2 separate regions of the Homo sapiens genome follow, and region 1 is linked to region 2. Evidence: promoter capture Hi-C in human tissues and cell types (Jung and others, 2019). All regions are on one chromosome and are shown on one strand. Each heading gives the region's core, a stretch centred on a gene start or on the middle of the fragment in contact. The rest is flanking DNA. Distances are from core to core; before and after follow the strand shown. Region 1 overlaps NSD1 (nuclear receptor binding SET domain protein 1). Region 2 holds the start of ZNF346 (zinc finger protein 346).

Region 1 (3,436 bases), core at 937-3,436, 220 kb after region 2:
GTAAATATATCTTATTTGTCTTATTTTTCAACTCAGTTTTTTAAAATGAAATAGAGACATCTTGACATTCTACCCCTACATAGTTTAATATGTAGTTAAAAAATGGAACATTTTCCTTTATAATCAATTTAACATATTTACATCTTATATAAGATCTGTTTATCTGACATCAACTGTCTTTCAAATTTCATCAATTATCCCCTAACCTTTACCTTTGGATTATTCATACCAGGACTCAATCTAGGACTGCTCATTGTAACTGGTTGTTATGGTTCTCAAATCACTTTGAATTCAGAACAATCCCTTTTTTCATGATCATGATCATGTCTATAAGAGAGTGACATATAAAGTCATCTACTTTCTGTATTTGTGTAATTGCTTCCTCATAGGTGTCACTTAGATTGTTTTCTCTATCTCCTGTTCTCTGTCAAATGGAAGATAGAACCTATCAGTTTGATAGATTGAAAGTTGAACATTTTTAGCTAGACTATATCAGAGATGATAATGTGGAATATATTGTACATTAGAGGGTTAAAAAATGTTTTATTCCCATCAGCCATTCCCTGACAGTTTGTTCTTTCTTTTTTAAAATTGAGACAGTGTCTTGCCCAAGCTGGAGTGCAGAGATGCACGAACACGGTTCACTGCAGCCTTGACCTCCTGGGTTTAAGCAATGTTTCCGTCTCAGCCTCCTGAGTAGTTGGGACCAAAGGTGCACACTACCACACCTGGCTAATTTTTGACAACATTTTTTTTGTAGAGGCGGTGTCCCACTATGTTGCCCTGGCTGGTCTCGAATTCCTGGGCTCCAGTGATCTTTCTGCCTCAGCCTCCCAGAGTGTTGGGATTACAGGTGTGGGCCACCATGCCCAGCTTCCCTGATGGTTTTTTGAAAACCCCAGTTGAAGATCTTTACCTATATCAATAATTTTATTAGAGGTTACAAAATGAAGACTTTCAGATTTTATTATTTTCTCTATTTTTATTAACTGATAGTCTCTTTCATTAATTGGACTCTGTTATTGTCCTGAAATACTTGAAAGGCAGAATAAGTGCTTCTTTCTTTCCCATTAATTACCAATTGTAACATTAAGGAGTTCATTAGTAGTTGTTTTAATTGGAGACATTAGAGCAGTCTCTTTCCCCTGCTTTTGAATTATTGTTGTGGACTTATCAATATTATAGCTTCAGTGTATCTCAGTCAACTTCATTTAATTTTGGTTAAAAAAATATATATATATAATGTAAATTTTATTATTTTATCTTTTTTTTTTTTTTTTTTTGAGATGGAGTCTCACTCTGTTGCCCAGGCTGGAGTGCAGTGGTGTGATCTCAGCTCACTGCAAGCTCTGCCTCTCCTGTTCACACCATTCTCCTGCCTCAGCCTCCCGAGTAGCTGGGACTACAGGTGCCCGCCACCACACCTGGCTAATTTTTTGCATTTTTAGGTAGAGACAGGGTTTCACCATGGTAGCCAGGATGGTCTTGATCTCCTGACCTCGTGATCTGCCTGCCTTGGCCTCCCAAAGTTCTGGAATTACAGGCGTGAGCCACCACGCCCAGCCTATTTTATCCATTTTTAAGTGTACAGTTCAGTAGCATGAAGCACAGTTAGATTGTTGTGCAACCATCTCCACCATCCATCTCGATAATTTTTTTCATCTTTCCAAATTAAAAATCAATACCCATTAACCAATAACTCCCTTTTCTGCTCAGCCCCTGGCAATTGCCATTCTATTTTCTGTCTCAAGAATTTTCTTATTCTAGATACCTCATATACTTGAAATCATACGATATTTGTTCTTTGTGTCTTAAGTAATTTCCCTTAGCATACATAATGTCTTCAAGGTTCATCCACTTTTTGTAGCCTTTGTCAGAATTTCATTCCTTTTAAAGTGTGTTATTCTTTTTGACACTTAAATTACAACAATTTTGGCCTGTGGACTCTATTTTTATTTTTTGTTCTTAGGTAAGTTCCCGCTGTGAAGAGGAAAGCCTTCTAGCCCGAGGTCGATCTAGTGCTCAGAACAAGCAGGTGGACGAGAATTCTTTGATTTCAACCAAAGAAGAGCCTCCAGTTCTTGAAAGGGAGGCTCCGTTTTTGGAGGGCCCCTTGGCTCAGTCAGAACTTGGAGGTGGACATGCTGAGTTGCCGCAGCTGACCTTGTCTGTGCCTGTGGCTCCGGAAGTCTCTCCACGGCCTGCCCTTGAGTCTGAGGAATTGCTAGTTAAAACGCCAGGTAAGGTGGGGTTGGGGTCTCAGTATTTGAGCAGATATGATTAGAGGAAGCAGGAGATTTTAGTATGTTTTGATGTAAAGCCAACATTGTATCTATATACAATAAACTACCCCCTTTTGTCCTGGGAAATACTTAAAATGATGGTTAATTAGATATAGTTACTAACCATGAACTGTGGCACACTATCAAGAAGATGTATTTTTAATAACTATGCTCCTTGCTCCAGTGTTGCTCTTCATGATTGTTGATCAGCCACTGTGTAAATTAACAACCAGGATAACAGGGCTTCAAGAGGAGTACTGCACATTAGTGGAATAAGCACTATGCTTCAAGTGCTGGCTCCACCAATCCTTGTGTTACTTGGGAAGTTGTTTAATCTCTGAACTTGTTTCCTCATCTATAAATGGAGATCATAATGTATTAATGTGTAATGTTATATACCTGACAACATAGTAATTACCAGTTCATTAGAAGTTAATTACCAGTTACTTCTCACTTGATCATTCTTTATATATCACCTGGGGAGAGTTGGATCTAAACATATTGTCTCTAATTCACCTTGTAACTATTGAATATTATAGTCAGTCAAGGAATGGCAAGAATCCTCTTTTCTGTACCCCTTTAAATTTTGGATATAACTTTTTTACATTATCAACAGTAGCTTTTGATGTTATTCCTTAAAGAAACGATTCCAATTGTGCTTAAACTAGTTGGGTATAATAAAAAAGATTTTTGAAAGAACAGTAAAGATAGTTATTATTTCAGTACCTACTATGTGCCAAAACTCTATTAAGTCAGCTCTTTTATATTATTCTTGAGTGATCCTATGAATTATCTTTTACCTATTGAATTTTATTTACTTAGGGGCAGAGCAGAAACTATAATCTTTGTCCATTTATGACCATGATCCAAGTTCTATTTCACTCCACTTCTCCTTATTTTATCCTCACCAACAATCAGTTGTTATAAAGGCAGTTCCGTCCTTCTGACTTCTCCCTTAGTGATTTTGTGAGTTAAAGTCACCACACACACATCCCTCACATTAGTTGGTGCTTGCATTGAAAACTGTTTACTTGTTTTGTTTACTAATATTTTATAATAAGCAAATTACCATCCTGCCTCTTCCCATAAGATGACGGGGAAAACATCAAAAACATTGAGATTCATTTTGTGTGGTATACAGATTTTTTAAAAAT
Region 2 (3,653 bases), core at 570-3,069:
TTGAAATAAGCTAGTAATATTAAAAGCTTCATTCATTAAACAAATGTTTTGTATATACCTAGGAGGGTCCAGGTTCTATTTCAAAGTGCTGGAGATTCAGGTGCAATGACAAGAGACAAAAGGCTACGCAAGGTGGCATGTGCCTGTAATCTCAGCATTTTGGGAGCCCGAGGCAGGCAGATTATGAGATCAGGAGTTTGAGATCAGCCTAGCTAACATAGTGAAACCCCGTCTCTACCAAAAATATAAAAATTAGCTGGGTGCCGTGGCATGTGCCTGTAATCCCAGCTACTCAGGAGGCTGAGGCTGGAGAATTGCTTGAACCCGGGAGACGGAAGCTGCAGTGAGCCGAGATCGCGTCACTGCACTCCAACCTGGCGACAGAGCAAAACTCTGCCTCAAAAACAATTTAAAAAAAGAAAGAAAAGAAAAGAGACAAAAATCCCTGCCTTCCTGGGGCTTGCCTTCTAGTCGGGAGACAGACAATAAGCAAGATAAAAGGTAAAATATAAAAGAAATAAAGCAGGAAAGAAGGACATGAAGTGTGTGTGGAAAAGTAACATTTTAGATGGGATAGCCAGACAAGGTATTTTAGATAGAGTAGCCAGAGAAGGAAGTGGGAGACTGAGCCATGAAGATATATGAGAGAAATTCACCCCAGGAGGCCTGGATAACTGGGACAGGAATTAAGGAGTTGGGGACTGAGTAACACATCAGGATCAGGGAGGTTAAGGGAAGTCAGATTGTACAGGGCCTTGTTGGTCGAAGTAAGGACTTTGGCTTTTTTTTTTTTTAGTCGGAGTTTCGCTCTTGTTGCCCAGGCTGGGGTGCAATGGCGCCAGCTCGGCTCACAGCAACCTCTGCCTCCCGGGTTCAAGCCATTCTCCTGGCTCAGCCTCCGAGTAGATGGGATTACAGGCATGTGCCACCACACCCGTCTAATTTTGTATTTTTAGTAGAGACGGGGTTTCTCCATGTTGGTCAGGCTGGTCTCGAACTCCGGACCTCAGGTGATCCGCCCCCCCTTAGCCTCCCAAAGTGCTGGGATTACAGGCGTGAGCCACCGCGCCTGGCCGGACTTTGGCTTTTACTAAGAGTGAGATGGGAAGCTGTTGGAGGATTTGAGAACCTAAGCGTCATGATCTGACTTGTCATAAGAGGATTCCTGGAACTGCTGTGCTGGGAATGCCAGTGAGGTTGCTACTACAATAACCTAGGCAAGAGATGGTGGCTCCCAAAGACACGGGAAGGAGCAGCTCTGGGGTTGGAAGATAAAATTTGGGGTCTGACAGCTACATTGGAGAAGCCTATTAGCCATTCGAGTGAACTGTGGAAGAGGCAACTGGATGTATACAGGTCCGGAGTCTCGGGGAAGATCAGAGCTGGGAGCTGGCACTTGGAACTCAACAAATAGTATGTATTATTAGCAGTAATATGGAACCTTAGCTGTACTACTACTTACTAGTAGCGAGCTCTTGAGTTAACCATTTTTAGGTTCTGGGCCTCAGTTTCCCTGTGAATGAAATGGCGAAAACACTCCCACATAACGGGACCTTGAGAACGAAATGAAAAGTATCAAGGGCTGACCGTGAGCAAGGTGAGAGCCATGAGCCAAAACCACACGAGCCTCTCCGGGAGGGGGGGGTCACTGCTGCGGAATCAGCGACAGGTTTCCGAATCCACGGCACACGCTCTGAGGTACCAGAGGTAGCAAAGCAAAATAAGCGCGGGGTCCCGCACGGCAGCGCGGGTGCAGCGCCCAAACCTCGCGAGATTTGTTGGCTGGGCCAAGTACCACCCACCAAATCTCGCGATACCTAGGCGCCTGAGAGGCTCTCTACCGGTGAGGGTTTGCGGGGAAGATGGAGTATCCCGCGCCGGCCACGGTGCAGGCCGCGGACGGCGGAGCGGCCGGGCCTTACAGCAGCTCGGAGTTGCTGGAGGGCCAGGAGCCGGACGGGGTGCGCTTTGACCGCGAGAGGGCGCGCCGCCTGTGGGAAGCCGTGTCCGGTGCCCAGCCGGTGGGTAGAGAGGAAGGTGAGTCGGGGGCTTTGGAGGCAGAAAGCCCCTCGCCCGCTGCGCGGCTCGCGGGGAACTGCGGAAGCGCCGACGGTCACACCCCCTGGCCCGCCTCCTTGCGTGCTGCGCCCCGGGACCCCCAGACTTGTGCTCCCCATCCGGGCGCGGGCACCCCAAGAATCGGGCCCCCAGCGCGCTGAGGGTGAAGGGCCGCTCACGCTCAGGCCCTGGGTTTTCCTCCTCCTCCTTCATCATTCACTACAGCGCAGTTTTTCCCACATTCGAGGACTGTCATCCCTATACTCGTCCTGTCGGAGACCTACAGTCTTTGCCATCCCGGTAAGCCAAGCCGAGTGCCCCTCACCACTCCTTGACTCCCCATCGTCCCAATCTCCAGATTTCCTCCTAGGGCCTCTCGCCTCCCTTCTCTCAAGCCCCACACTTCCGAGGGCTCTGGAAGGCCTTCTCCTTACCCCCTGGGTTCCTCCTGGTCTTGATGACTGAGCCCTGGCTTACCCGTTTTTAGCTCTCTGGCCTCTACTTGCTGGGTCCCTTATTCTAAGGTGGGGACAAGGAGCCTGAGAAACTGGTCTGGGTTTGCTTTGGCTCCAGCTTCTTTGTGTCCTACACTTGACCCAAAGTTGCTGAGAACAGTGTATGCAAAGCCACGTTAGGGGTCACTCCTGGGCCGAAGCGCCCCAGCTTGCTCTGCACTTGACCTGAGACTGGGTAAGATGGGATGAAAGAAAGAGAAGGATGGAAAAGAGCTGTCCTGACCTGCTTGTGTGACTCCCTTCACTGTCCTTTACAGAGCCAGCTGCTTGATGCTAACCCAGATGTACAAGAACTCTATCTGGGCTTCTCTGCTAACCTTGTCAGGTATCTGGAGGGAAATCAGATTTCTCCAGTGATTTGTTTGCTTGCTGAGCAGACTTGTCTTCGAAAGTTTAATATGCTATTTGTGAACTGACTGCCCTGGATAAAATTGGATAAAATTGAAATTTTGACCATATCTAAGGAAGGTACACAGACCTATACCCTGGTATATACTTCTCCAATTTAAAAACAAGTCTAGCCTGTCTCCTAAGTTTATATATATATATAATGTATATTATATATAAAAAAGAAGGAGACAGGGCCCCAGAAATGGTGTGTGTGTATGCGTATATATAATATACACACACATAAATGTATATATATAATATATACACACATAAATCTGTATATATATTTTTATATACACTTGTAAGTATTTTATGTATACACACACACACACACACACACTATTTCTGGGGCCCTCTCTCCTTTTTTTTTTTTTTTTTTTTGAGAGAGTCTCACTCTGTCACCCAGGTTGGAGTGCAGTGGCACAATCACACTGCAACCTCCGCCTCCTGGGTTCAAGCAATTCTATACTGCCTCAGCCTCCGGAGTAGCTGGGATTACAGGCTGCTGCCATGACGCTCAGCTGATTTTTGTATTTTTAGTAGAGATGGGGTTTCACCATGTTGGCCAGGCTGTTCTCGAACTCCTGACCTCAAGTGATCTGCCCGCCTTGACCTCCCAAAGTGCTGGGATTACAGGCATGAGCCACCGCACCCGGCTCTCCTACTTTCACACTTGTTTGGTAGTTTCCT

The links. Contacts are between HindIII fragments. The study calls those that stand out against the background at their distance.
Region 1: a fragment that was not itself captured here is called in contact with the fragment with the promoter of ZNF346 in region 2 in 1 of the 25 tissues and cell types used here (dorsolateral prefrontal cortex).

Annotation. Positions count from the first base shown.
Region 1 is chr5:177,236,268-177,239,703 of GRCh38, forward strand. It overlaps NSD1 (nuclear receptor binding SET domain protein 1), which reads left to right. Exons shown (of 23, transcript NM_022455.5): 7 at 1,970-2,240. Among named protein-coding and RNA genes, the nearest start is that of RAB24, 66 kb to the right of the region's middle. The HindIII fragment of the contact is 9,664 bases long and covers 1-3,436 here.
Region 2 is chr5:177,020,877-177,024,529 of GRCh38, forward strand. It overlaps ZNF346 (zinc finger protein 346), which reads left to right and starts at 1,820. Exons shown (of 7, transcript NM_012279.4): 1 at 1,820-2,037. The coding sequence starts at 1,863. It also overlaps a transcript of UIMC1 not described here. RefSeq lists enhancers at 1,524-2,061, 1,585-1,634, 2,062-2,598 and a silencer at 2,035-2,184. The HindIII fragment of the contact is 9,260 bases long and covers 1-3,653 here.